Regions from separate parts of the Homo sapiens genome. Here regions 2, 3, 4, 5, 6 and 7 are each linked to region 1. Evidence: promoter capture Hi-C in 16 types of primary human blood cells and fetal thymus (Javierre and others, 2016). All regions are on one chromosome and are shown on one strand. Each heading gives the region's core, a stretch centred on a gene start or on the middle of the fragment in contact. The rest is flanking DNA. Distances are from core to core; before and after follow the strand shown.

Region 1 (3,789 bases), core at 1,183-3,682:
GATGGTTTAAGAGTGTATCTCTCAAGTCACTGTCCTTGTATTTGACAAAATTTCCTGGCCAGGGTTAAAGTCTGGAATTCTAATCCAAATTTTCCTCATTTGGACATGCTGAATCAAACTGGCCACTACAGAGACAAAGAGTATGCTTGTTGACTTTGAAAAACTAAAAACGCTTTGTTCCTAATGACTAGGGAGCAGTGACCTGGGAGACTTGATCTGTTTGGTAACTGTGGGCGAGAAAGACGAAATATATCTCTTTGGGTCAAGACTTAGCATTTGTAAAGTAAGGAAGACCACAGGATGTTATTCAAAGCCTTTGCCAAGGCTTTGGTTGGAAGATTTAATGGAATCCACAGGCAGAGAATAGGGTGAGGGTAGGAGGTGGGGATACAGGTTAGGAAGGTTGGTTTATCCTTTCTGTTCCCAGGGGCATTTCTTCTATCAGGTCATTCCCTCAGCTGCAAGGCCTCCTGTTTGCCTCTAATGCTACTTCCAATCTGTCCATGCTGCAGGGCCCAGGTTATACTATATTGCCTCTATCAAGTCTTCCCGGATCACTTTAGCATGCACCAGTAACTCATTTTCAGAACTCACTCATTTCCTGAACTCTTTACTCATTCATTAAACATGTCATGTTACAGAATATTTCTCTTCTGGTATTTCACTCATTTTGCTCCTAAATTTTATCTTGAGGAAGCAGATCAGAAAAAAAGAAACGACATAGACTTTAAGGGCACATTGACTTCACTTGAATCCTGCTCTAGGGCCCCTGCCTTGCAGAACTCCAGGGGCCAGTTAGATAGCATGCAGTCCTGACTGGTTCTACCACTCTGGAGCAACTGTCTATGACCACCTCAAATCCATTGTGGAATGCAAATGGGGCATACTGTATTAGTTTCTATTGCTGTTCCAACAAATGACTACAAACTCAGTGGCTTAAAATAACACAAATGTATAACTGCTATAGTTTAATATCCCCTCCAAAACTTAGGTTGAAATTTAGTTGCCATTGTAACAATGTTGAAACATGGTCTTACAGGAGGTGATTAGGTCATGAGGGCTCTGCCCTCATGAATGGATCAAGGCTGTTAATCACAGGAGTGTGTTAGTTATCAAAGGAGTGGGCTCCACATAGAAGAATGAAGTTCTGGTTCCCTTCCTCTCTCTCTCTCGCATGCTCTCTTGTCAGGTAATGCCTTCTGCATGTTATGACACAGCAAGAAGGCCCTCACCAGATGCAGCCCCTTGATCTTGCACTTCCCAGCCTCCAGATCCATAAGACAAATAAACTTCTGTTATTTATAAGTTACCTAGCCTGTGGTATTCTGTTACAGCAGCAGAAAATGGACCAAGATATCTTACAGTTTTGGAGGCCAGAAGTTCACAGTGGGTTATCAGGGCAGGGCGTCTTCAGGAGGCTTGGGGTGGAGGGGGAGGAATCTGTTTTCTTGCCTTTTCCAGCTTCTAGAGGGTGCATGCATTCCTTGACTCATGACCCGACATCACTCCAATTTCTGTTTCCATTGTCACATCCCTGTCATTCTCACTCTTATCTTCCTATCTACCCCCTTATTAAAGACCATGGCAATTACACTGGGCCCACTCAGAAAGTCGATAGTAACATCCCCACTGCAAAACCTTTCATCACCTCTTCAAAGCCCCTTTTGCCATTTGAGGTAACCTATTCACAGCCTTCAGAATTTTTGAAGGAGGGGAGGCATCATTCTGCCTGCTATATACATAGTCTTTGGATCTCAGTTTCCACATCTGTAAAATGGAGAACTACTGTCTTCCCCACAGGGCTATTGAGATGATTGAATGAAGTAATTTCTGCTTATGAATTCCCAGCTCTGTGCCTGCCATGGAGGCAGGCAATTCTGATCCATGTTCTCTTCTGAGTGGGTTGTCAGCTGGAGGCCTTCTACTTCTTTCTAATCCATTAGCTTCTTGCTAGTGCTGCGTCCCCAGGAGGAAATCAGTAAATGCAAGAAATAATTACCTTGACAATGCCTTGCACATAGTAAGTACCCTAAAATAATTCATTGAATTGTTTGTTATTTTGGTGTTAATGGATGGGGATCATCTGATTAAATGTTATTATTTATTAGATCTAAAATATAAATTTGGATTCTTCTGTTGCACTTTTACCTAATTACTCTAAACACCAGTGGGAGAGAGGAATTAGTCACAATACAACTTAAAGAAAAAAATATCTTGCTGTCACTGACTTCTCTCCTTGGTCTGAAAACTTTCTGATTTTGTAGGATGCCACTGACTGCTCTTTCTGCAACTGAAAAATCTCTCAAAGGGCCCTGTCCAGTTAGGTCACACAAAGCCAGGCTGATTATTTAGAGAGAACACAATGCTCCCTCACATGGGGCACAGAGAGGAAGGAATTTTTTTTTTAAGCCAATTCCAGTCCCTGGAGCTGCAAACTGCCCTCAGGGCAAAGAAGCCTGCAGAATAATTGGGAGGAGTCTGGCAGGAAGGAAGCCAAGGTAAGTTAAGCTGCATTTCTGTCTATAGCCAGGGTCTCCATGCCACTTTTTAAACATCCCCTTCTGGGATAAACCTGTATGTCAAGATAAACAATTAAATAATATGCAAGGGCCAAATCAGGAAAACTGCAGCTTCAGCCCTAGAAAACAATGCCAAGAAACACCAGCCTGTCTGCCGCTGCTAAGTCGAGGAGATGGGTTCCCATGATTCCGTAAGAGAACTGGGTCAGGGAGGAGACACTGTCTGTTTAGAATATGCTTCAGGCCCCTAAACTTGGTCGGTTTATGCTTTTTCAGGTTAATAAAGTGGAAAATAACTTTACCTCATCCCTCTATCAAAGCATAGTGCGGCTGCCCCAGAGACCCCTAATACAGCCAGGGATGATGTGTTTGGAAAATGGGGCAAGAGAGGGTCCAAAGATGAGACCCCAAAACTGTGAGGGGGAGGTTGTGTGAGGAGGACAGACCAGAGCTGGAGGGGGACTGTGAGAAGAGGAGTCTGGTTGCTGCCGTCTCTGAAGGGTCTTCCTAGGCTCCCACACCATCATGTCTTGGCCAGCCAAGGCCAAGTGGTTGTGTAAACTTAGGATGGTCATAGAATCCTGAACTACTAGCACATGGGGGTTGAGCTTGTCTGAGGATCTTTTTGAGGAAATGGGGGAAGTATTATTCATGTAATGTGTGACCAGAGTATAGAAATCATGATCCCAGCAGATGGCATGAACGGACACTGAATAGTCCGAATGTCTCATCTCTCTGGACAGAGCAGGCTGGTGGGATCTGGGCAGTCGGGCTGGCTGAGGAGGCATATTTCAGAGTCCAGAGCGAATCCCAGCAGTAATGCCTGGGAACAAAGCCAACTGGTGCCCAGGGCAAGCAGCCCAGTTCTGGGGTCAGGCTACCAAGGTTGTACCAGGCAAGAGAAGAAGGGTGAGCAGGGGAATATTCAAGAGCATCCAAGAATGCAGGGAGCTAATGAGCATGGGAGTGCAGAACTGAGGTCAGAAGGCGTGGCCAATGGAAACTCCCAGCAGCCCTGTGCAGGGGCTCTGCGGATACCTGCTAGCTCTTGGGGCTTAAGCACGCAGTTCGGGACTGGCAGCTCAAAAATGTCTTGAGCAGATTGGCCCCTCAGATAAAGTGGGACACACAGTCTTTTTTTTTTTTTTTTTTTTTTTGAGACGGAGTCTCGCTCTGTCGCCCAGCCTGGAGTGCAGTGGCGCGATCTCTGCTCACTGCAAGCTCCGCCTCCCGGGTTCACGCTATTCTCCTGCCTCAGCCTCCCGAGTAG
Region 2 (3,783 bases), core at 433-2,932, 620 kb before region 1:
GCCACTGCGTCCAGCCTTTTTTTTTTTTTTTTTTTGCTATTTAAAGAAGTTTCCAAATATATTAGGAAACTTGATTTGGTGTTACTTTTATTACTCGTTTCTCATTTCTAACTTTGTGGCATAGTATTAGTTTCCTATTGCTGCTGTCAGAAATTACTGCAAATTTAGTGGCTTAAAACAACACAGATTTATTATCTTACAGTTCTAGAGGTCAGATAGCCAAAATTAGTCTCTCTGGGATAAAATCAAGTTGTTGGCAGGGCTGTGTTTCTTCTTGAGGATCTAGAGGATAATCTGTTTTTTTCCCCTGTTCTAGCTTCTAGAGCCTACCTGCATTCCTTGGCTTGTGATCCCTTTGTCCATCTTCAAACAGATCTGTCGCTGACTCTCAGACCTCTGCTCTTCCCTCACATTTTCTGTAACTCTGACCCTTCTATCTCCTTCTATAAGGATTCTTGTGATTACATTGAGTCCACCCAGGTAATTCAGGATAACTTCTTCATCTCAAGGCCCTTAATTTAGTCACATATACAAAGTCATTTTTGCCATGTAAGGTAACAGTCTCAGGTTCCAGGAATTAGTACATAGACATCTTTAGGACGCCCTTATTCTGTCTATTCACATTATTTATATCATTTTCCTTCCCCCACCTTTCCCACTCTGTTGTTTTGGATGTTATACATTCTGTTTCTTTTCCTTGGTATTGATATTATTTATGTGTTTAACAGTATTTAATATTATGCCTTTTTACCTTTGCATACCATGCTCATTTGTACTTTCCTTGCTTGTGTTGTTTAGCATTTTAGTTTCCCTTTGTTTCTAAATGCCTTCTGCATTAATCAGGCTTCTCTAGAGAAACAGAACCAACAAGTGAGAGTGAGATTTATTGTAAGGAATTGTGATTGTAGAAGCTTGGTAAGTCCACAATCTGCAAGATAGGCTGGTGGGCAAGAGACCTAGGGAAAAATTGTGGTTCTAAAGATATTATGTTGGCAAAATTCCTTCTTGTTCAGGAGAGGTTGTCCTGTCTTTGTTCTCTTATGGCCTTCAATTGGTTGGATGAAGCCTGTTCACATTATGGAGGTTAATCTGCTTTACTCAAAGTCTACTAATTAAAATGTCAACCTCATCTAGAAAACAACTTTACAGAAACATCTGAATAACGTTTGTCCAGGAATCTGGGTATCATGGCCCAAACAAATTGACAAAAATGTTAACTATTACTCTTTCCAAGTTACTTAGTTTTTCTGTTACTGTTATTATCAATATTATGTACTTATTTAACTTTCTAATGTGTTTACCAATATCTTTTCTCGTAACATATTCTTGCATTCCATTCTCCTTTCTATGCTCAGTTTTCCTTCTTTACACATATATTTCCCAAGAAACTGGGAGAAATAAATTCTCAGTTTTTATTTGTCTGAGAATGTCTGTTTTCCTCACAGACCTGAATGATGGTTTAATAGGGTATAGAATTCTTGGATAACACTTATATTTCCTTAGCTCTTTGAGGATATTATTCTGTTGTTTCCTAGCATTTGTTATTGCGTATGAGACATCTACCTTTAATTATCTTTTCTTTGTAGATAATCTGACCTGTCCTTTGCTGGTTGTTTTTAAGATCCTTTCTTTGCCATTAGTGTTTTTGTTGTTGGTGGTGGTGATGTTGTTTGTTTGTTCGTTTTGAGACGGAGTCTCGCTCTGTGGCCCAGGCTGGAGTGTAGTGGCGTGATCTCAGCTCACTGCAACCTCTGCCTCCCAGGTTCAAGCGATTCTCCTGCCTCAGCCTCCCAAGCAGCTGGGATTACAGGCGCATGCCACCACACCCAGCTAATTTTTGTATTTTTAGTAGAGACGGAGTTTTGCCATGTTGGCCAGGCTGGTCTTGAACTCCTCACCTCAGGTGATCTGCCTGCCTCAGCTTCCCTAAGTGCTAGGATTACCGGCGTGAACCACCATGCCCGGCCTGCCTTTAGTGTGTTACATTTTCACTGTACTTTATTTAGGTATGAGTTTCTTTTCTTTTAATTTATTTATTCTGATTTTTGTTTTTCCTAGACCCGGGAAGGGATTCATGTGGCTCATCAGTTTTGGAAAATGTCAGCCACTGTCTTTTCAAATAGGTGTTCCCCCCTTCTTCTGTCATTTCCTTCTAGAATGCCTAGTAAAGATACAGATTGTATTCTGTCCTCCATATCAGCTATTCTAATCTGTCATTCCTTGAGGTTTTCTTTTTCTTAAGTGATTTTTTTTTATTGAATTTCTCTTTGGTTCTTTTAAAAATATTTTAGTTCTTTTTTTTGCATAACCAGTGTTGTCATTGTGGCTTTTCTGTCTTTGAAAAATCATTCTAAACATTTTTACTGGTTTAGTCATTTTCAGATTCTATTTATAGTTTTAGATTATTTTATTTGTAGTATTTGAAGGGTAATTTGCCTATTTATTACATCAGCTAAAGCTTTCTCCTCGTGATGGTTTCTTCAATTTATAATTTTTTATTATGAGCTCATCTTTACTAGGGACTATGTATTCTATGGAAGTCCAGTATAGTATGTGAGTATCTTTGTGGGACTATTTACATCTACATCTTTTGGTCCTTAAAAATTTCAAGGGTCCAGTCAGATTTTATGTTACTTTTAAATTTTACACCACGGAATTATGTAAATTTAAAACCCTCACATATATAGGATACTCTTGTAGAGTTTTTTATGTTTTAGTGGTGACTGTTTTCCCTCTCTCATTGAAGGCTTCAAATTAATGACTGGCTTCTTTCCTCTTAGAGTTCATGGGCCACGTTTTTCTAGTTAATTTTTCTTGAGTAGCACACCTCTTTGATTCTGTGAGCTTTAGGTGGATGCTCAGTTCTTGATCCCCCACCTCACATCAGCTATGGGTATGTTTTCACTCCTGCAAGTGATTTAAAGGTGTATGTCCAAGCACTTAGCCCTTAAAGCCTAGAGCTGAGTTTGAAACCCCGGGGATTGCTACAGTGTCTGTTTAAGCTTATGGCTCTGGCTTTGACTTCTATTTGTTTCCAGCACTTGAGGAATTTTTGTTTCTTATTTTTAGCAAAGTATTATTTTGAAAGTATTTTATCCAGTATTTCTCTGTGTTTGGAGCAGGAAGGAAGCCCTTACATATTGGCTTGGACTATACCATGTTATAAGAATTTTCTGTTTTTTTTAACATTGATGTAATTTGATTGACTCTTAATTTCTTTCTATTTTAAGGATATTGGTTGATTCTCTAATAGCTTTTTAAAAATTCTGTTTTGGGATTGTTTTAACTTTTCTTTTCCCTCCAGTGCGTTTTTCAAACATTTTTTGTTTTGTGTGTATCTGGTACCTAATAAATATTCAGTAAATGTTTTCTAAGTGAAAATAAGTCAAATGTTTAGTTTGTGCCAAAGGACGTTCTAGGTGATTTTAATAAGTTTATTTGTTTTAGGCCTCATATATGTTAAGTTAGACTGATAGACCCTACCAAGTTATAAAATGATAATAATAATAGTAATAATAATAGCTTCAAATAATTATAAGACACGTCATTTTCATTCTAACCCTGCAATATGTAGTATTATTATCACTGTTTTACTGTTGAGATAATTGAGAAATAGAGAAAGTAACTTATCCCAAATCACATAGTTAGCACATGGCAGAGCTCTATTTAAAGTAAGTCTGGCTCCAGAGGCTTGTATTCTTAATCATTATACTGTAGCTTTTATATCCTGTTGAGAGATATCCTTGATTATTATTATACCTCTGCTTAAAATATTTTCCCACT
Region 3 (3,721 bases), core at 807-3,306, 540 kb before region 1:
TCTTTTATAGCATTTAAAAGAGTAAATACCCCAAAAGAGTAGGTACTTAAAATGACAGAAAAATAAATCTCCCATGGGTACCTCCTGCCTTTGACAACCTTACAGACTCACAAGGGAGATTAAAACCTTTGCAAGTTGGCCAGGTGTGGTGGCTCACGCCTGTAATCCCAGGACTTTGGGAGGCTGAGGCGAGCAGATCACGAGGTCAAGAGATCGAGACCATTCTGGCCAACACGGTGAAACCCCGTCTCTACTAAAAATACAAAAATTAGCTGGGCGTGGTGGCGAGTGCCTGTAGTCCCAGCTACTCGGGGGGCTGAGACAGGAGAATTGCTTGAACCAGGGAGTCGGAGGTTGCAGTGAGCCAAGATTGCGTCACTGCACTCCAGCCTGGCAACAGAGTGAGACACCATTGCAAAAAAAAAAAAAAAAAAAAATCTGTACAAGTTTTGGCTAGAAATTGGCCAAATAGGAGTAAAAGCTAATAGAAACAGAATACAGGCTGGGTGCAGTGGCTCACGCCTATAATTCCAGCACTTTGGGAGGCCAAGGTGGGAAGATCACTGAAGGTCAGGAGTTCAAGACCAGCGTGGCCAACATGGTGAAACCCCATCTCTACAAAAAATACAAAAATTAGCTGGGCATGGTAGCGAGCACTTGTAATCTCAGCTACTTGGGAGGCTGATGCCAGAGAATCACTTGAATCCGGGAGACAGAAGTTGCAGTGACCTGAGATCACACCATTGCACTACAGCCTGGGTAACAGAGCGAGACTGTCTCAAAAAAAAAGAAAGAAGGAAACAGAATGCAGAAAGAATAACAAGGGTAGAAATTTAGAAACAGTAGTAGAGAATGGAGAACACTGGAACTGTATTGGAGATACATGTAAGGGATAAGTGCAAGAGAGAATAGAGCAGGGGGAAATGACTGATCCCAAGCCCGCAGTTGAATGTTGCTGTTTCCACCCCCACAAACCATTCAGTGCTGGGCTTTTTATGAAGACAAGTCCTGGTGCTATTACAGATGATCCTTGGTTTGCAGTGAGGTTATGTCCCAATAAGCCTATCATATGTTGAAAATATCATCATGTAGAAAATGCATTTAATACACCTAGACTACTAAACATCATAGCTTAGCCTAGCCTACTTTAAATGTGTTCAGAACACTTACATTAACCTACAGTTGGGCAAAATCATCTAACACAAAGCTTACTTTATAATAAAGTTTTGAATAACTTATGTAATTCATTGAATAAGTACTGAAATGAAAAACAGAATGGTTTCATACCATGGTAAAGTCAAAAATCCTAAGTCAAACTACTGTAAGTCAGTGACAGTCTGTGCCTAAATGAATAAGGCTGGCTGTTAGAGCTGGTCACAAGAGATAGTGGCTGGTGAATGGATAAAGCTAAGACTTTAGAGCCAGTTCAACCAGGGTTTAATTCCCAGTCGCTAATTATATGGCATTAGGAAAGTTTCTTAATCTCTCTGGGCCTCAGTTTCCAAATCTCTAAAATGGGATCAATAATTCTTATTTTTCTAACATGTAGTTAGGGTCACACCTAGCCTGGCTTTCTCTTTCTGGTTTAATATTCTTTGCATGTTGTTCATAAACTTTGAAAGACTGCTTAGTTGAGCGTGGATGGTTTTTAGAGCCAGAGACAGGGTCAGATCTGAATTCAAATACAACCATTACTACTTAATGTATAAATTTGAGGAATTCATTTTATTTCTATTTCTTCAATTTTGTAGTGAAGAGTGAATCAACTGAAATGATAAAACAGTGGCCTTCAAGATCATATTCCCTACAATATATTTTCTCACAGTCTCCTATACAACATTGCAGGCTAAGCAGATATTATTGATCTTTTGTTTTTTGAGTCTTATTTTTAAGAGATTTATTGAATAATAGTAATAATTATACTAATAACTTAGACTTATGTGCCAGGCTTCAAAGTAAACATTTATGTATATTATCTTATATAATTTTCACAACAACCCTGAAGTGTAGATACTTTTATAATTTCCATTTTATAGATGGGAAGCCTGATGCTTAGAAAATTAAATAACTTGCTCCAGGTGACACAGACAGTAAGTGATGAAGCTGGGATTTGAACCCAGAAAATCTGACTTTAGAATCTCATAAGCACTATACTATACTGTCTTCCATGTGATTCTGATAACTTCCCTAAAGGCAGCTGCCCCACTCCCTTCCCATTGCTGCAAAGCATCCAGCACAGTACCCAGGCCCCAGCAGCCACTTAACAAATGTGGGCTCTATCTCTGCAGCCCATCTGCCAAGTGTTAGAGCTAAGGCCTGATGATATTTTTGCTTGCTGGAGCAAATCAGAAAAGAAACCTCTGTAAATGAAAAACTTTTCTAAGTCCCTTCCTTTATAAATTGAACAGTAACTAATTCAAATTTCCAGAATAATATAATTTTGATATTGTCTTGAAGTTTGCTGTATTTTGGTTTGGCTTGTATGCCATAAATATACCCAGTCGAATTTAGATGATTAGGAGGTATGATTTTAAACATATGAAACTGTCCCCTCTTTATCTTCTCTACACTATTATATTCTCTTCATGACACATATCACCACCAACCATATGTTTGTGTGTTTATTTTCTGCAACCCCTTCAGTAGTACATGTGCTACAGTAGAGAAGGGACTTAATCTGTTTTATTCCCTGCTGTATCTCCAGTACCTAAAATAATATGGAGTAGGTACTCAAAAAAATTTGTTTTATGGATAAAAATGTTTGTGTAAATTATGGGAAACTGACATTTAAATATTATTTTTCTTTCTAGCTTGGATTAGAAGAACAAGAAAGACTCCACCTACTATGGAGGTAAGACTACACAAGGAGGATATCATTTAGGAGTATATATTCCCAAGGATATACGAAGCTTCAGAAAAACTATGATGTATTTTCTCAAAGTGTTGATTTTATTCCATCACAGAAAATAACTTAAAACATTTTATAATAAATTAATATATAAACCTATATTATTAATAAAATAATATATGATAAAATAAATGCTCATATTATGGAATATAACAAAATTTGTATAAATTTTAAAGTGAAATAATAAAAATTTAAAACAAAATTAAAACACTCTGTAGAAAGTCTGAACTTGGAGCAGTTTGCACCAGGTTATTTCCCCTGGGCCCTGGGGGTTCTCTGTGCCAATACTCAAGCTTTTGTGGAAAAGTTTGAGAAACACTGAATCTCTTTGTCTTGTCCAAATCATGCTCTTATGTTTCCCTTAATATTATGTATTTAAATCCATCAAGTATCCAAAGAAACTTTAAAATACAGAATTAGCAATTATTTTATAACAGTAATTATTAGTTGACTTTTTATTTAAAACTAAAAAATTTGTAGTCAGTGATAAACAATAAAAAAACATAGAAATGCTATGGTATATATGTTTTACAATATAATTTTTATATAGATTATTTTATAAAAATTATAATTTTAATTTTAAAAATATGTAAAGACCTCTAAAGTTATTTTATAAGAAGTAATTTCATAAAAGGAGAGTCTCTAAATGCATTAGTGTACTGCCTTGTTTACTTTTTGTCTAGAGGCATTCCCTTTCTTCTACTATTTAGGACTTCCCTCCTCTCTTCTGTTGCCTATTCTGTCACTACTACAAGCCCTGATGACAACATAAATGGGCTCCGGTACTCAATCCCCATTTGTTGGGAAGTGGAG
Region 4 (3,832 bases), core at 308-2,807, 580 kb before region 1:
AATACCTTTGCCAGCCAATAAGTGGTGCTATTGTCACAGAATAGTTAGGTTGTTCTGCAGCACAAAGCAAAGGGGGAAGATGTGGAAAGTATATGCCAAGTGGTTGTAAAATGGGTTGTGAAAAGGAGGCAGAAATAAAAAAGGGAGGCAGCATGAACCTGACTATATGTGGACACTGTTTTTGTAGTATAGGAGGTGATTATGCTAGTACATTTTCTTAAATTTCCATGTAAAAATTAAACATAATTCAAGACACACCTTTCCTTATCCATTCAATTTTCTTTGAGCTTTAGTTTCCTCAATTATAAAAGTGAAGATTGTTGTGAGAATTAAGAAAATAAAAATAAAGTGTCTATTAATATCATATACATAATGCTCAATAAATATAATTCTGCTCATCTAAATGAGTCAGATAACATTAATAAGCCAAATTAACATAATATTATTGACACGTTGCTAAATTAGCCTAAATTACATGATCTTCAGAACCTGGAAGCTTATAAGAAAGTAGCAAGAAATAGGGAAAAAATGTTGAGCTTTGTCATTTGCTACTAAGAATAAAGAATTGTTCAACTCCAATTATTTTATTCTTTTGTAGGTAAATATCCAGGCATGGGCTATCAGTACATCCTTGAGTAGAGAGGCAGGCTCCATTTTTATATGCACTCTGTTTTTGGAGACCCCCATCTTAAAGTAATACCATGTGGCATATCTTACTATTAGTGACTGTAGTGTTTATCTTTTTGAGCATCATTGAGAAATAATGAATAAGTAGGTAAAAATTGCAAGATTAATGGTCTTTTTGCAGCCTTCACAAGCAAAATGGAATCAACTTTTCTTTTTCATGCTCCTACAGCCTGCCTTTTGGTGCAATCACAGCTTATTAGCATATCTTTCTAACAGCGAACTAAAATAGAGAACAAAGATAAAATTCATGTCATCCAATTTTGTTAGTTATTAGCCAGGGTAAAGTTTGTCATAGGAAGAGTTTAAACGAATGACTAAAATCATATGATGCTATGGCTGGGCACGGTGGCCCACACCTGTAATCCCAGCACTTTGGGATGCCAAAGCAAGAGGATCACCTGAGGTTGGCAGTTCAAAACCAGCCTGGCCAACATGGTGAAACCCCGTCTCTACTAAAAATACAAACATTAGCTGGGCATGGTGGCGCGTGCCTGTAATCCCCAGCTACTCAGGAGGCTGAGGCATGAGAATCGCTTGAACCAAGGAGGCCGAGGTTGCGGTGAGCTGAGATCACGCCATTGCACTCCAGCCTGGGCAACAGAACGACACTCTGTCTCCAAAAAAAAAAAAAAAAAAAAAAAAAAAAAAATATATATATATATATATATATATATATATATATTTATATGGTGCTATATAAAAACTTTTGATGGAATTTTCTATCCTGTCTTTCCTTTTACTGCTGGTAATTGGCCTCAGACTACCTAAATCTTTCCCTTCACAGCAGCCTGCAGTTCTGGGGAGTCAAAGTATTAAAAATGCCTCTCCAGTGAAGGCCTGCTTGCTTGATGACAAGTGAATTGGAGAGTTGTTTTTCCCTCTTGTTGTTCAGACTTCTTTGTCTTTTCCTAAGCACTTCTTATTCCAACATGAGAAAATGACTTCTCACTGAACTCATCCTTTCTGAACACTGGAAGCAAGCCTTAAATCAAGTTCTAGCTTTAAATCATAGATTCACAGCTGAAGTAGGCTTTACATGTTCTTGGAAAACAGGATTGTAGGGAAAATGCTACATTGTCTTACAACCAGTTACTCAGTAGTTTGTGAAAGATTGCTTGACTAACTAAATGAAGAATAGTATAGGGAAAGAAGTAAATGTATGGTGGTCTTTCTGCCCATTGGCAAGATCTTGATTTTGTTTAGTAAATGAATATATGTATTCACAGATGGACTGGGGAATCTCAGAAGTACAGTACTTGGTCTGAATCAATGATTTTCACAGGACTCTTTAGAATCCTAGGAGTGTGAGGAGGTAACTACATGTAAGGGGAGGGGAGAAAAGGTGGGTGGTACTCTGAACCCCTCCCTTAACCAGAGAGGCTCTGCTTGAATAGTTTTGTAAATTGAACCTCTAAAGAGGATATTTTTAAAGACAATAGTTTGAAAATTATTGGCATCCGAGACTTTTACCAACTAAACCCAATTTTTGAGCTTGGGAATCTGGTTCACAAATACTAGTGTAGTTCCTGTTAACTTGATAACTATCACATTTCATTAGATGATTATGTGATCTCCTTCTATATCAGAATGTTTCTATTTATTAGTGATCAGTGGTGCCTGGTGGCTAAATTAAATAGATTAATGAAGGGTATTAGTAATTTCATGGATTAATAAATATAATTTTTTAAAATTGAGAACTAATGTACCACAAAATGCAATCTGTTTATTTTTATTAAATTATTCATATTTAAAACTGCCACATATTCTGTGAATTAGTAACAGTAGATAACAGTACGGTCTTTGACTCTTTTATGGTCTGTGATTAATGACCAAGTATTTGATTTCTATGAAACCATTTGGGTCTAGAAGTCAATCACATAATCAGCTGTATCTGCTACATTTCGAATCTGAAAATAAGTTTGGGCTTGGCCCAAGCTTTTCACATACTATAATTTTATAATTCTCTAAATTCTAGTAATATTTGCCATCATTTTTAATTATTTCCTTCCATCTCTCTTTTTACCTATATATTGAAAGCCCTAGTGTTCAAATTAGATTTTCAAAGTGAAAATTAAATACTTGATTATATTATTTTATACCACACTATGAATATTTACTAATTTTGAAAGAAAATACTCTTTTTATATATATTTTTATATCAAGGGTGTACCAGATTGGAATTTGTTTGCTTGAGTCACTATAAAATAAGATTTCCAATCACATTCATAAATGTCCTCTTATTGTAAAATAGTTTTGTTAAAACTTGAAATTCTTGTATAATGTCTTAAAGCCTATTTAATTTAGCTAAAAAAATTTTCATCCCCGCCTTTTTTCCTTCCTTTTTGTGTGTGTTTAAGACATCTTAACTCATGTTATAATTTAGATATATTCATAGCAGAATCACCTAATATTCATTTTTCTGACATTTTGTTAAATGTTCACATTTTCAATTATGAATATACTTCATACATTGTAGACAATTTAGCTTTACAAAAAAGTATAGAATGTATTAAGTGAGTGAAGTACTTTCAAAAGTTGATTTCTACACATCAATCAAAACCTGAAATGACTACTTCTTTCAGCTCTTCATAGTGAACACATTATTACATGGACTAAATAGTCATGCATTCATCATTTATATTTTTTGTTTGAATGGTTACCTTCTTTTGGAGAGTAGATCAGGTGTAATTGTAACTGCTTTTTCAGCAGATCAAAAATTCCTTTCAGTTTGGAAAATAAATGGTTTTTCAACATAATATTCAAGTGTTATTTCTTTGTTTTTTAAAAACAGTTTTTGATGTGTGATTTCCACAGTAATGGAAGGGAAGTAAATGAAGTAAAGGCATTTCTAAGACTTACATGTTTGATTTGGGAATATAATCAGAAGACCTGCTTAACTTTTAATTATAAATCTTCTTAGATTAATGCAATAGACTATTCAGTGTATATTTGTTGGTTGAATTACAGATGTTTTTAGAACTTTGAAGTTTTGTTTGAATATAATGCTCTCATGGAACCTTTAAAAATTAACGGTCAATAAGAGTTTATTGTCCTTGTGCAAAGCACAAACACAAATTTACAATAGGTTAATCTTTTTTCTTAAATTGTGATATTCTTATGTATTTTCAGATTGAAATTTTATTTG
Region 5 (3,798 bases), core at 837-3,336, 600 kb before region 1:
CAAGATGGATTTTAGTGCACATGATCATTTAAGAACAATTGTTATTGCAGTAATACAGGCACATGGTGCAGGTCTGAAGTGAAGGGTAGTAGTTGAGCTGCAAAAAATGCAGACTTCTGAGGGCCATTAGGAAAGACATGACAGCATGACTTGGTGGTTGATTGAATATGGGTGATGGGAGGGACTGAATATGGGTGATGAGACGGGGGGTGGGAGGGAGGGAGGCGGGGGAAGAGAGAGAGAGAGAGAGAGAGAGAGAGGGAGAGAGAGAAAGTCAGCAATGTTACAAACTATAACTTTAAGGCCTAAATCTTCCAGTTCTGTGGGAGTTTGTTAAACTGCAATCTATAATGTACATAGATCATCAAAAATAAAATACTCTAAAAGACATTTGAGAAGACTAAGTGAAAGTATAAAAAAGGCAACATAATGCCTATTCTGCAAATGAGTGTAAAAGAATATATCCTGCAAATAATTGTGCATTATTACCCTGGTATTAAAATTGATTGTGATTCAGAGACTTAGAAGAGCTGTGTTCTGACCAAACAAGGTTTATGGACCAGACCACTGGGACTGTAGCCAGCTCAAACTGTACTCATTGGTCACACCTGTAAATGTAGAACTTTTATTAACCCCACCCCCCAGAAAAAGAATTTTGGCATAGTTTACAGTAAGAGCCAACTCTATCTTGTTTATTTGAGGTATTATTAGGAGTGATAATCTAAAAGCATTGCTAATTTTTATAGTATTTTTCTCTCTTACCTTTTAAACCAAAATCATGTTAGGGACCAAATGCTTGCTTAATGTTTGATTTGAGCCACATACTAAAAGAAACTGATTGGTGTTGGATAAAGAGGTAAATGCTAAGTAAATCTTTTCAAAATTATTTGTTATTAAGTTATTATTAATCATCCAAAAAGGGTGACAAAAACCAATAACTCCATAACATTTGAGGTCATGTTTCTTAATTGATGCTCTCTTTGCAGCTATAACTTTTTTTTTTCATTTCATTTTATATGCTTGCTGTCATTTGCCCATTTCTCTTCTTTGCATGAATGCTTTTTTGTTTATCTTGTTACATGTGTTTTTATTTATAGAAGACAAAGTACAATGTGATACTTCTTCATTATTACTTGCTAAATTCCTTGTTTAAATGGTAAGTCCCTATTTTAATATAGTTTTGGGGATAAATTTACTGAAAATATTCAGTGCTTATATTTTCAGTTTTGAATTTATTCATATTGTGACAGTAATTGGTAGAAAACTGTTTCTCACAGCTGACAGGCCAAAAAAAAAAAAAAAAAAGTCTTGGGGACAAAGCTACCACATGCCAGAGTGCTGAGGACCCATCAGATATTTAAGGAAGTGGCATTTGTACTCGCATTATTTAAGTTACTGTTGAAAAAAAGAGATGGGAAGAGACTATATTTGTAACAAGCATATTATAGAATTCATTTTCTAAAAAATCATGTTTCTGAAGAATAGAACATCTATCAGATGTTTTATAAAGCACATGTAACTAATAGATAATAGTTCTTCTCCAAAAGAACTGGAAACCATGAATGCTATCTTTTTTAGAATCCCAAAATTTAAAGAAATATTTCTGCTTCCTAGAAAATAGTAATTAAGCCCAAATTTCCAACTGAATCTCAATCAATAGTTGTACTATTTTCTACCACAGAAATGCTATTCAGTAAATGGTATAAGTGATGATATAATGTATACTTAACTTCTGTTTTGCCAATTAACTTAGATCATTCTCAAACTGTGATTTAGGGGACGGCTGGTGTCCTTAAGAATCCCTCAGGTGGTGAGATAGCCAGTCATTAGTTTTAATGATTATGGCTGTATTTCTCTTTCTGGCAAGGATGAATAATTATGCTTAGTAAGAACCATAGCATCTCATTGATTTCTCATCAAAGAAAACAAACATTGCCCTTAATTCTGATGAGGTATGCTGGACAAACAGGAATGGGTGGAACAGTCATCCCTACTTTATTTTATTTTTAATAGTTTATGAACTAAATTTTGAGGAGCCATTACTATAGATCAAGATACTATAACTCTTTAGAACTTTGAAGATATTCTGTTAAATCATCTCAGATCCATTACTGAAATGAAGACTTTAAAACCTTCTTAAGAAGTTGCTAAGCTGTTGAACACTTGAACTTGAAGTTTACACAACCTGGCAAGTATTTTTTTGTTCTTTTTCCTCATACATGGTCAATATAGTGGGTTGAATAGTGTCCCCCCAAAAAATGTATATCCATTTGAAACCTCAGAATGTTATCTTATTTGGAAGTAGGGTGTTTGTCTATACAGTTAAGTTAAGATGGGATCAGATTATGGTCGACTCTAAATCTAATGACTGGTATCTTTATAGGAAGAGGAAAGGACACACACACACACACACACACACACACACACACACGCGCGCGCGCGCGCGAAAGTTGAAAGCAGAGATTGGAGTAATGCAGCTACAAGCCAAGGAAGGCCAGGAGCCACTAGAAAAGGCAAAGAAAGATTCTTCCCTAGAGCCTTCAGAGGACCCTCCCTCCCTATACTTTCATTTCAGACTTTAGCCTCCAGAACAGAGACAATGAATTTCTGTTAAGTCACACAATTTGTGATTCTTTGTTATGGCAGCCCTAGGAAACCAAAATAGTCAGTATTCCTGAACATTCTCCCATAAATATATATTTTTTTGCCTTTTTTTTTGTACAAATTTCTATCATTTACTAAGCTATGAAGTACTTGAGAGGAGAACTGTGTCACACTCATTCTATACCTGATTTCAGAACCCCACAAGTATTTATTAGCATATAACTGTGGGATAGTCTTATTTTTTAAGATTCACAAATATATTCTTCATGAGAACACGTTAGTTTTTATTAAGTATGCATATTAGAGAGAGACTGGAGTATAAATAACTGTAAGGATATTTTGTATGAAAAAATAATTGTAGATAATTACCAGGTTTGGGTTTCTATAGTTAGCAAAAGTAGGATAACTGTTGTTATCATGTTTATGTCCCATTCATATGAAAAATAAAATCCAAAGTGGGTTTTAAGTAAATGAAATCCCTAAGGGACTGTCAACCTGAATTATCCAGAGAATATTCAGTTTGTCATAATTTTGCTCCAATATTATAGAGCACAGCTGAAAATAACTGCTTAACTATCAAAATTCTATCCAAAGCACAGATCATTTATAAAGATTAACATTTAGTAAAATGACTTACAAATGTGTTTAAAGTAACATGGTATTTTATGAAGAGCTAATATTCAGAAGTAACATCTAAGAGGATATATACAAATTTAAATTTTTTAAACTTTAAAGGATTGGATTATAGCTTACATTTCTGAGATATGAAAAATTACCATCAAGTAATATTCTTATCTCAATGTAAACATATTCTCCATTTACTAGTATAATTTTTATCTCTCTTTAAATAGAAGTAGTTTTATAAGTATTTGAATATTTTTGATCGAAGAGTTGAAATACTACCAATAGAGGTACTAATGACTATTTGAGGTGGTTGTAGGTTGTTTTTTCACCCGTACCAGTTTTTTTCATGAATTTTAATACACAAAGATTCCCAGTGTTGGTTTTAAATTCTTACAGGCTAAGAGAGACTTAGTCTTAGAGAGATTGTAGGTAAGAAATATAATTAATATTTTAACTCATTACTGAGAATAGACCAATACTTTCGAGTTTAAAACTTGGTAGACTTAACTATGTGACTCTTTCAGTTACTGCAAGTAATAAATTATGAATTATAAGCAACGTTTAGTTTAT
Region 6 (4,064 bases), core at 1,260-3,759, 520 kb before region 1:
CAGTCTCTCCCTCCATGTTACCACCAGTGATGTTCACTCAAGGCCCTAGGGCTCCACAGTGAGCAGGTGATGAAGCCGGGCAGGCTTGTATTCTTTTCTTCAGGGAGGTGAGTTCCTTGGTTCCAGGTGGATCTAGAGATGCCAAGCAGGAGCCAGGGCCTGGAGTCTAGAACCTTAGGAATCTATCTGTTGCTCTATTCTACTGTGGCTGAGCTGGCACCGGAGCCAGAAGAGGAAGTTCTTCCCACTCTTCTCTCCCCTTTCCACAAGCTAAGGAGTTCTCCCCATGGCCACCACCACCCCAGGCTCATGGCGAGTACTGCCAGGCTACTGCTGATGTTTATTTAAGGCCCAAGAGGGTTCTTCCATCAGTTTGTGGTGGATGCTGCCAGGCCTAGGACTCTCCCTTCAGGGCAGTGGGCTTTCTTCTGGCCCAGGGCAGGTCCAACATTACTTTCCAAGAGCCAAGGCCTAGAATCAAGGACCCCAGGAGACCGCTTGATGCTCTACCTGACTGTGGCTGAACTGCTGCCTAAGATGATTTTTGATTCTTATGAAGGTGCTTTTTTGGTGTGAATAGTTTTTCAATTTGGTGTTCCTGCAGTGAGGATGATTAATGGAGGCTTCTATTTGGACCTCTTGCTCCCCTCTCCTCTTATAGTATTCTTGCTAATAATTCATAACCTTAATCTAACCAGAAGGAAAAAAACCGGAAAGAAACAACTGGAAATCCTAAATTGGGAGACTCTCATTTCATAAAACACCAGGCTTGTCATGTCAGTGACATGAATGATTAAAAAGGACTGATACATGACAGCTAAATGTAACATGTTATCCTAGATTGGAGAAAAAACTTTGCTGTAAGGAAAAGTATTGAGGTAACTGGTGAAGTTTGAAGAGGAACCTTATTAAATAATAGCATTATATCAATTTTAAATCTCCTAGAAAAAAGGAAAAGGATGCTGTTATATTCCCTTTGTGATATCGTACAACGAGACAACTGCCTCTTCTCTATCCATTTCAAAACTAGAAATTTACTCATGGGAAAGAGAAAATAGTCCAGACTATGTAGCACTGCTTTCCTAATTTGAGAGAAGATATACCATTCTGAAAAACAGAGGAATTAAATGAACATGTACATACTGAAAATGAGACCTCTAGATCTTTTTCCCTACTGGGTTTTCAAATGAAGACAAACAGGCCTTTATGCTCCAGGCAGAGTATTAGAAGATTCGTCTTTGCGGACTCTTACCAACCAAGAAAAAGGACCTGAAACCCTTATTAGGTTATAGTGAAACTGAGCTTGCAACAAGCTTCACCTGTGGCATCAAAGTTTCCAGCTAGATTTACCTAGGAACACTAGACATCTGAGAAATGAAAAACAGAGACCCATACAAATAAATAGGGTAAAACACTTGGATAAAACAGACTACTTAAAAACTTAAAATAACTGCTATCCTCAGCGATTCAAGAAGTTACTACAGTCATGAAATGAGAACTTAATGTTCCAAAATAAAAGGAATATTTAACAAAAAGGAGTACTTGGAAAAATAAAAATATAATAGAAATGAAATGTTTAACTGAAGGGTTAGAACCTTCTATTCAATTTCCTGTAACATAGGGCAGAAAGAAACAGAAAATAGAAAAGAAAAATTAGAGGACTAGTAATACTAGAAGCTAGAAGACAGAGAAGTAACGGTGCTTTCAACATTCTGACAGTTCTAGTCTAGAATTCTATACCTAGTTTTATGATTTAAGCTTGAATGTAGGCTAAACACATTTTAGACATGCAAAGTCTCATAGAATTATCTCCTACAAACCCTTTCTCACAAAGTGACTAAAGGAGTAAACAAAGAAAAAGGGAGGGGTGAGATCCAAGAAATAAAACTGCAGCATTGGCAAAGGGTACTAGAGTATGAAAGGCAACCAGTCCAGGCAGAGTGAATGGAGAGATTTTTTTCCCCAAAAACATGAAATACATAGAGTACCTGATACATCTGAACATACCAAGTGGGGCTGAATTATCGATAAGTACATGAGAAATAAACAAAATTCATTTATTTGCGGAAAAAACTTGGGAAGGAAAAGGAAAAATAATCATTTTCTACTACATAACTCACTTGTTGACAGTGTTTACTCATAATATGTGAATCCACAACTATACTAGGGTATTAGGGAACACAAAGAATAAGGCAAACCCTCATTTTCAAAAATGAGAAGTTAATATATAGTGCCTAAAACTGAAAAAATAACTAACAGTTTTAAAATATTAGTTAGCTATTATGGAGTGTTTAAGTGCAGAGCCTGCTTTGTAACTGTCAGACACTTTTAAGGCTCCTTGGTTTGGCCTATACTATGACCATAAACATCAGCTTAAAGAATATAAAGTATTGCTTTTGAGAAGAGGCAACTATTATTTGTCATAACAAGCCTTTTAGAATGAAATGGCCCTACAATAAAAAGATGTATAATTTTTTTAAGAGACAGGGTCTTGCTCTGTTGCCCAAGCTGGAGTGCAGTGGCACTGTCATAGCTTACTGCAGTCTTGAACTCCTGGGCTCAAGAGTTCCTCCCACTTCAGCCTCCCAAGTAGCTGGGGCTGCAAGTGCACACTACCATGCCTGGCTAACTTTTTTTGATTTTGTAGAGATGGGGTTTCACTATGTTGCCTAGGTTTATCTGCAACTGTTAGACTCAAGCGATCTTCCCACCTCAGCCTCCCATAGTGCTGGGATTATAGGCGTGAGCCACTGTGCCCAGCCCAATGCATATGATTGACTTTTTTTTAAAAAAAAAAGAATGTTAAAAAGCACATATACAATGATATGGATGAGCAGTGGCAATTTTTTTCGGCAGGGTATCAGATAGCAAATATTTTAGGGTTTGTGACCCAAATGGTCTCTGTTGAAACTACTAAGCTCTGCCATTGTAGTATGAAAGCAGTTATAGATGGTATGTAAATAAGTAAGTGTGGCTATATCCAATAAAACGTTATTTACAGAAACAGTTGGCAGGTGGATCCTAGTTTGTCAATCCTGGTAATGATCAATGGTTTTCAAATTGGGATGCCTATACCACTGGATACACAAAGACTTCCTATGGGATATACCATTATGAATAGCTTTAAAAAATTAATTTCCTCATTCTCTCTTTCTATATGGAGTCCTTCCTAAAAACTATCTACCTGAGAACTCTTTCTGGTCTGCCAGTTCTCCTTTCTCACTTCTTTCAAAATCATCTGTCTCCCACTTTTCAGAAGAAAAGCTTACCCCTTTTCCGTACTAAATCTTACTATGGTGTCTTGCCTTGCAGTTTAAAAATCTCCCGGGCACCACACAAGGAGACAATTGGAGAGTGAATCTCTCTTGAGGGATAGTCCTTTGAGAGCAAAGCAAAGAAAGCATCAATAAAAATTAGTGAAGGGGTAATACATTATTTCATGCAGGCAACAAACTCATGGCCAGGCTCCGTGCCTTATATTATAGTTTCTCTGTCTACCTAGCTAGCTAGCTGTCCATTTATCTATCTTAAAATTAAAATTCACAAGTGAGAAAGTTGTCATGGGGATGAATAATAACACGTTTATTTGAATTTTAAAATTAAGTCAGACTTTTTCTGACAGATAGTAAGTCAGATTTGGCTGGTTGAGTTTGACAATGAGGACTAGCCTTGCCAATTAAGTTATATTGTTATATTCTCTGTGTATTGAATAAGCTGAACTGCAGCTCCAAGGCTTTGACAAAGATATACTTAAAGCATGCATTCAGTATACAATAAGCTAGAAAATGCATCCTTTGTCATTACTTAAGTGTCAACTGAAATGTGCAAGATGGTGCATAGTTTTTCAAAAGTCTTTGAAGATAAAATGTGCAAAAAACGAAGAAAAAACACTGCTACTATTATTTATGGATATATAGAGATATTGTAAAAGTATGAAAACATTCATGAAAATGATAGATGAGAAACCGGGTAGTTATTATCTCTGGGGAAGGAAAATGTTAGGGTTCACAGTCATGGAGAGCTTTGGTCATGTCTGTAGTGTTTTATTTCTTAAGTTGGATGGT
Region 7 (4,073 bases), core at 1,340-3,839, 560 kb before region 1:
GGAAGTAGAAAGCCTACCTGGTTTCCCCAGGCTCAAAGGTTCAGTGAGAAAGAAACATGTTTTGAAGCAACCATTTTGATAAAGCTGCTTTGAAAGATATAATGAAGACTTTCTGAAAACAGAAGAAAATAACAATTAGTTTTATGCCTTCTGTATAAACTTAAAATATGCACTAATCAACTTTTATTGAGAAATATAAGCATTAGGCATTCTCATTCCATTCTTGACTTCTCACCAACTTTTACTTTACTGTTCTCTCTGTTTCATGTTTCTGCATTGCTACTATTCCACTCCAGATATTAATCTCTCATCTGAAGAACCATAGACTTTGAAATTATGATAAAAGATCAAAGGGAGACAAAACAGCAGCAGCTGGTCTCTCAATGTGGCTCTAACAGTAACATACGAACTTAGTAGCTTGTAAGTGGTCACCATCAGTCTACCATAGCCATAACCAAACCAATGACCAGTTTTGTTAAATTCTCTTAAGAGGAAGTGATTCAGATGGGCCACAGAATTCAACCCATGGCTTGGCTCCCTTGGGTTTGCCAGTGTATTAGGGAGAGGGTGGCTGCAGGGTCTTGTGGTCCATTACATACTTAGTAACAGCAATGAATATCGATTTTCTTGGGTGATTGCAGCAGCCATTGCTTCCTCTAAGATATATACATGTAAGTCAGAAGAAGTTGAACTTGCTGTTGATTATTAAAATATTTTTTATTGGCCATTAGTGCTCTATAGGATTAATTGGTTGCTCTTTTTCTGTACATTAAATCTAGATTTATTTATTTATCTATTTATTTATTTATTTTTTGAGATGGAGTCTCACTCTGTAGCCCAAGCTGGAGTGCAGTGGCTCGATCTCGGTTCACTGCAGCCTCTGCCTCCCGGGCTCAAGTGATTCTCGTGCTTTAGCCTCCTGAGTAGAGTAGCTGGGACTACAGGTGTGTGCCACCATGCCTGGCTAATTTTTTGTATTTTAGTAGAGATGGGGTTTCACCATGTTGCCCAGGTTGATCTTGAACTCCTGAGCTCAGGCGATCCACCCACCTCGGCCTCCCAAAGTGCTGGGATTACAGGCGTGAGCCACTGCGGCTGGCCTACCTTTAATTTTTGTAGGCTGTGGTAAATAATTATAAATTTTTACAGTAGTTTAGAATTTGCCTTTTGTAATATACCTAATTCAAAATGGAAATCTATTCTCGTTTTCCTGTTAATTTAATTCTTTTACTATATAAGGGGTTATGCAATATTCAAAGATTAATTGTAGAACTACTGTATCATAGGTTCATTTAAAAATGTATTAATGACTTTTGTCTTATAGGACAAACTATTCGAGAGAAAAGAATTGTAGAAGCAGCAAATAAAAAAGAAGTAGACTATGAAGCAGGGGATATTCCAACAGAATGGGAAGGTAAGTTTCTGCTTTTAGTAGAATCTCATGGGAGGTAAGTTATATAACAGTATACAAATTCAATAAGAGCATATATAGTTATATACTGTTTCTCTTTGCAAAAAAGTTTTAGTGTCTGAATGTTTGAAACTTTGTTTTTTTAACATTGCATTTCTTTGAAAGTTGTGAAGGTGCTGAATTTTAGTAAGCAGATGCATGTATAGCAAAAAGAACTATTAAGCATTATCAGAGCTGAGACTAAGGTGAGGCAAGCCAAAATCCTAAGATGCAAAATTTAAGCAGGCACTCACTTTCATGTAGTGACCCAGCACTTGCACAATCCTAGGATTTGAATCCTGTTTCTGGCACTCATTACACACATGAACTTGCAAAGTAACTTAAACTTTTAGTTTTTTCTTTTATAAATTATGCATAATACTTGCTGTAGATACCATTTGGAGTATTTTTTCAACTCACAATAACTCTATGATAACTGACTGCCTGTTAAGACAAGGATGGATGCTCGATCCCTTTCCTAAGACTTTGAAGTTAAAATAAAAGATCAAAGGGAGACAAACAGCAGCAGTTGGTCTCTCAGTGTGGCTCTAACAGTAACATATGAACTTAGTAGCTTGTAAGTGGTCACCTTCAGTCTACCATCAAAGTTTTATTGCATAAAAAGCTAATTGATTTTAGAAAAGCTAATATTGCAGAAAAAGCTGATTTACTGAGAAGAAAACGGAAACTAGTTCACAATGAGAAGTACATAGAGAGAATATTTCCTAGTTTTCCAACAGCTTTCTGGTTCCCAGTTCAGTTTCTCTCTGAATGAAGTTCATCTGCAAGACTGAGTTCAAAATGGCACCTCATAACCATGTTATGTATTTCTGTTTTTTGCTTACCAGTTCCTAGCATAGTGCCTGGCACATTGTAAGGCACCTAGTAGGTAGTTAATCAATATGTATTGAATACCTGAGGCCGGGAGTGGTGACTCACGCCTGTAATCCCAGCACTTCGGGAGGTCGAAGTGGGCGGATCATCTGAGGCCAGGAGTTCAAGACCAGCCTGGCTAACATGGTGAAACCCCGTTTCTACTGAAAATATAAAAAATTAGGCCAGGTGTGGTGGCTCATGCCTGTAATCCCAGCACTTTGGGAGGCCAAGGCGGGTGGATCATGAGGTCAAGAGATTAAGATCATCCTGGCCAACATGGTGAAACCCCGTCTCTACTAAAAATACAAAAATTAGCTGGGCATGGTGGCACGTGCCTGTAGTCCCAGCTACTCGGGAGGCTGAGGCAGGAGAATCACTTGAACCCGGGGGGCAGAGGTTGCAGTGAGCCAAGATCACGCCACTGCACTCCAGCCTGGTGACAGAGTGAGACTCCATCTCAGAAAATAACAAAAAATTCAAAAAATTAGCCAGTCGTGGTGGCACAGGCCTGTAATCCCAGCTACTCGGGAGGCTGAGGCAGGAGAATCGCTTGAACCCGGGAGGCAGAGGTTGCAGTGAGCTGAGATTGCGCCATTGCACTCTGGCTTGGGCAACAAGAGCGAAACTCCGTCTCAAAAAAGAAAAGAAAAGAAAAGAAATACCTGAAACTGGGTAATTTATAAAGGAAAAAGGTTTAATTGACTCACAGCTCCGCATAGCTGGGGAGGCCTCAGGAAATTTACAATCATGGCAGAAGGCGAAGGGGAGGCAAGCACCTTCTTTGCGTGGCAGCGGGAGAGAGAATAATGAAGGAGGAACTTCCAAATACTTATAAAGCCATCAGATCTCATGAGAACTCACTCACTTCACAAGAACAGCATGGGGAAACCGCCCCCATGATCTAGTCACCTCCCTCCTTCGACACAAGGGGATTACAATTAGAAATGAGATTTGAGTAGGGACACAGAACCAAACCATATCACCCATTTAATAGATGGAGCACCTAAGGCCTAAAAAGGTTAGTTAATTTACCTGGGTTATATAGCTTCATACGTGGGTAAACAGTAGACTCATTGCTTCTTGGTTGGCATAGCATGATACCTTACATGTGGTAGCTATAGGCATTATGTTACTTTTATGCCAGCATGTGAATGTAAACATCATTTCAGTAAAAATATTTTTCCATTTCTGCTTACTACTAGAACTATGAGGAAAAAAAAAACCATAAAAATAAGTAGATACCAAAGGTTTTTTGAAGAAATACAGAATATAAATTGGCAACTTCTAGGAGGGGTAATTGAGCTTTCTTATTTTAGCAGACTCTCCAGTGTTATAAACTACATTTACAATTCTTGGATAATGCGTGCACCTTCTTAGAATGAGTTTGTTTTTATCATTTTTTCCAATAATAGTATAGAATTAAGATGTTTATAGAAATGTTATAAATAAATGAGTACGTAATGACTCATTTTTCAGCCTTTGAGACTTTCAGAGAGTTTGAATGAAGTTCTAATCTTTTTATGGCTGTCCTGATCTAGTAATTTGGCATAACTCTCCCATGGGACATATGTTTAAAACAAATGTATCAATCAAACACTAAACAAAAATTATTTTTATGGTGGTACACATCAATTAAATGTGAAAAATAACTCAGCACCATGAAAAAGTAAATTAAGTATTTTCAGGTTCAGATGAATATTGTATTTGTCAATTTTACTGGGACCTGCAAGTTGCATATTCTCCCACA

The links. The method cuts DNA at HindIII sites, captures the fragments that hold promoters and counts their contacts. A CHiCAGO score of 5 or more calls a contact.
Region 2: a contact is called between a fragment that was not itself captured here and the fragment with the promoter of LINC03122 in region 1, in 9 of 17 cell types (neutrophils, naive CD4 T cells, naive B cells and 6 more). The highest score is 9.1, in neutrophils.
Region 3: a fragment that was not itself captured here is called in contact with the fragment with the promoter of LINC03122 in region 1 in 10 of 17 cell types (total B cells, naive B cells, non-activated CD4 T cells and 7 more); the score reaches 7.6 in total B cells.
Region 4: a fragment that was not itself captured here is called in contact with the fragment with the promoter of LINC03122 in region 1 in 17 of 17 cell types (total B cells, naive CD4 T cells, non-activated CD4 T cells and 14 more); the score reaches 16.2 in total B cells.
Region 5: a fragment that was not itself captured here is called in contact with the fragment with the promoter of LINC03122 in region 1 in 4 of 17 cell types (monocytes, naive CD4 T cells, naive B cells and 1 more); the score reaches 8.0 in monocytes.
Region 6: a contact is called between a fragment that was not itself captured here and the fragment with the promoter of LINC03122 in region 1, in 6 of 17 cell types (neutrophils, fetal thymus, monocytes and 3 more). The highest score is 6.1, in neutrophils.
Region 7: a fragment that was not itself captured here is called in contact with the fragment with the promoter of LINC03122 in region 1 in 16 of 17 cell types (neutrophils, total B cells, fetal thymus and 13 more); the score reaches 14.3 in neutrophils.

What each region holds. Positions count from the first base shown.
Region 1 is chr5:61,635,349-61,639,137 of GRCh38, forward strand. LINC03122 (long intergenic non-protein coding RNA 3122) reads left to right here and starts at 2,433. Exons shown (of 2, transcript NR_126525.1): 1 at 2,433-2,498. The HindIII fragment of the contact is 4,932 bases long and covers 1-3,789 here.
Region 2 is chr5:61,020,978-61,024,760 of GRCh38, forward strand. All of the region lies in intron 1 of NDUFAF2 (NADH:ubiquinone oxidoreductase complex assembly factor 2), which reads left to right. Among named protein-coding and RNA genes, the nearest start is that of NDUFAF2, 78 kb to the left of the region's middle. The HindIII fragment of the contact is 1,547 bases long and covers 910-2,456 here.
Region 3 is chr5:61,096,182-61,099,902 of GRCh38, forward strand. It overlaps NDUFAF2 (NADH:ubiquinone oxidoreductase complex assembly factor 2), which reads left to right. Exons shown (of 4, transcript NM_174889.5): 3 at 2,811-2,851. Among named protein-coding and RNA genes, the nearest start is that of SMIM15-AS1, 64 kb to the right of the region's middle. The HindIII fragment of the contact is 1,702 bases long and covers 1,206-2,907 here.
Region 4 is chr5:61,055,585-61,059,416 of GRCh38, forward strand. The region is part of intron 1 of NDUFAF2 (NADH:ubiquinone oxidoreductase complex assembly factor 2); the gene reads left to right. Among named protein-coding and RNA genes, the nearest start is that of SMIM15-AS1, 100 kb to the right of the region's middle. The HindIII fragment of the contact is 2,126 bases long and covers 495-2,620 here.
Region 5 is chr5:61,037,857-61,041,654 of GRCh38, forward strand. All of the region lies in intron 1 of NDUFAF2 (NADH:ubiquinone oxidoreductase complex assembly factor 2), which reads left to right. Among named protein-coding and RNA genes, the nearest start is that of NDUFAF2, 95 kb to the left of the region's middle. The HindIII fragment of the contact is 8,800 bases long and covers 1-3,798 here.
Region 6 is chr5:61,114,894-61,118,957 of GRCh38, forward strand. The region is part of intron 3 of NDUFAF2 (NADH:ubiquinone oxidoreductase complex assembly factor 2); the gene reads left to right. Among named protein-coding and RNA genes, the nearest start is that of SMIM15-AS1, 45 kb to the right of the region's middle. The HindIII fragment of the contact is 1,506 bases long and covers 1,757-3,262 here.
Region 7 is chr5:61,071,801-61,075,873 of GRCh38, forward strand. It overlaps NDUFAF2 (NADH:ubiquinone oxidoreductase complex assembly factor 2), which reads left to right. Exons shown (of 4, transcript NM_174889.5): 2 at 1,325-1,414. Among named protein-coding and RNA genes, the nearest start is that of SMIM15-AS1, 88 kb to the right of the region's middle. The HindIII fragment of the contact is 6,746 bases long and covers 1-4,073 here.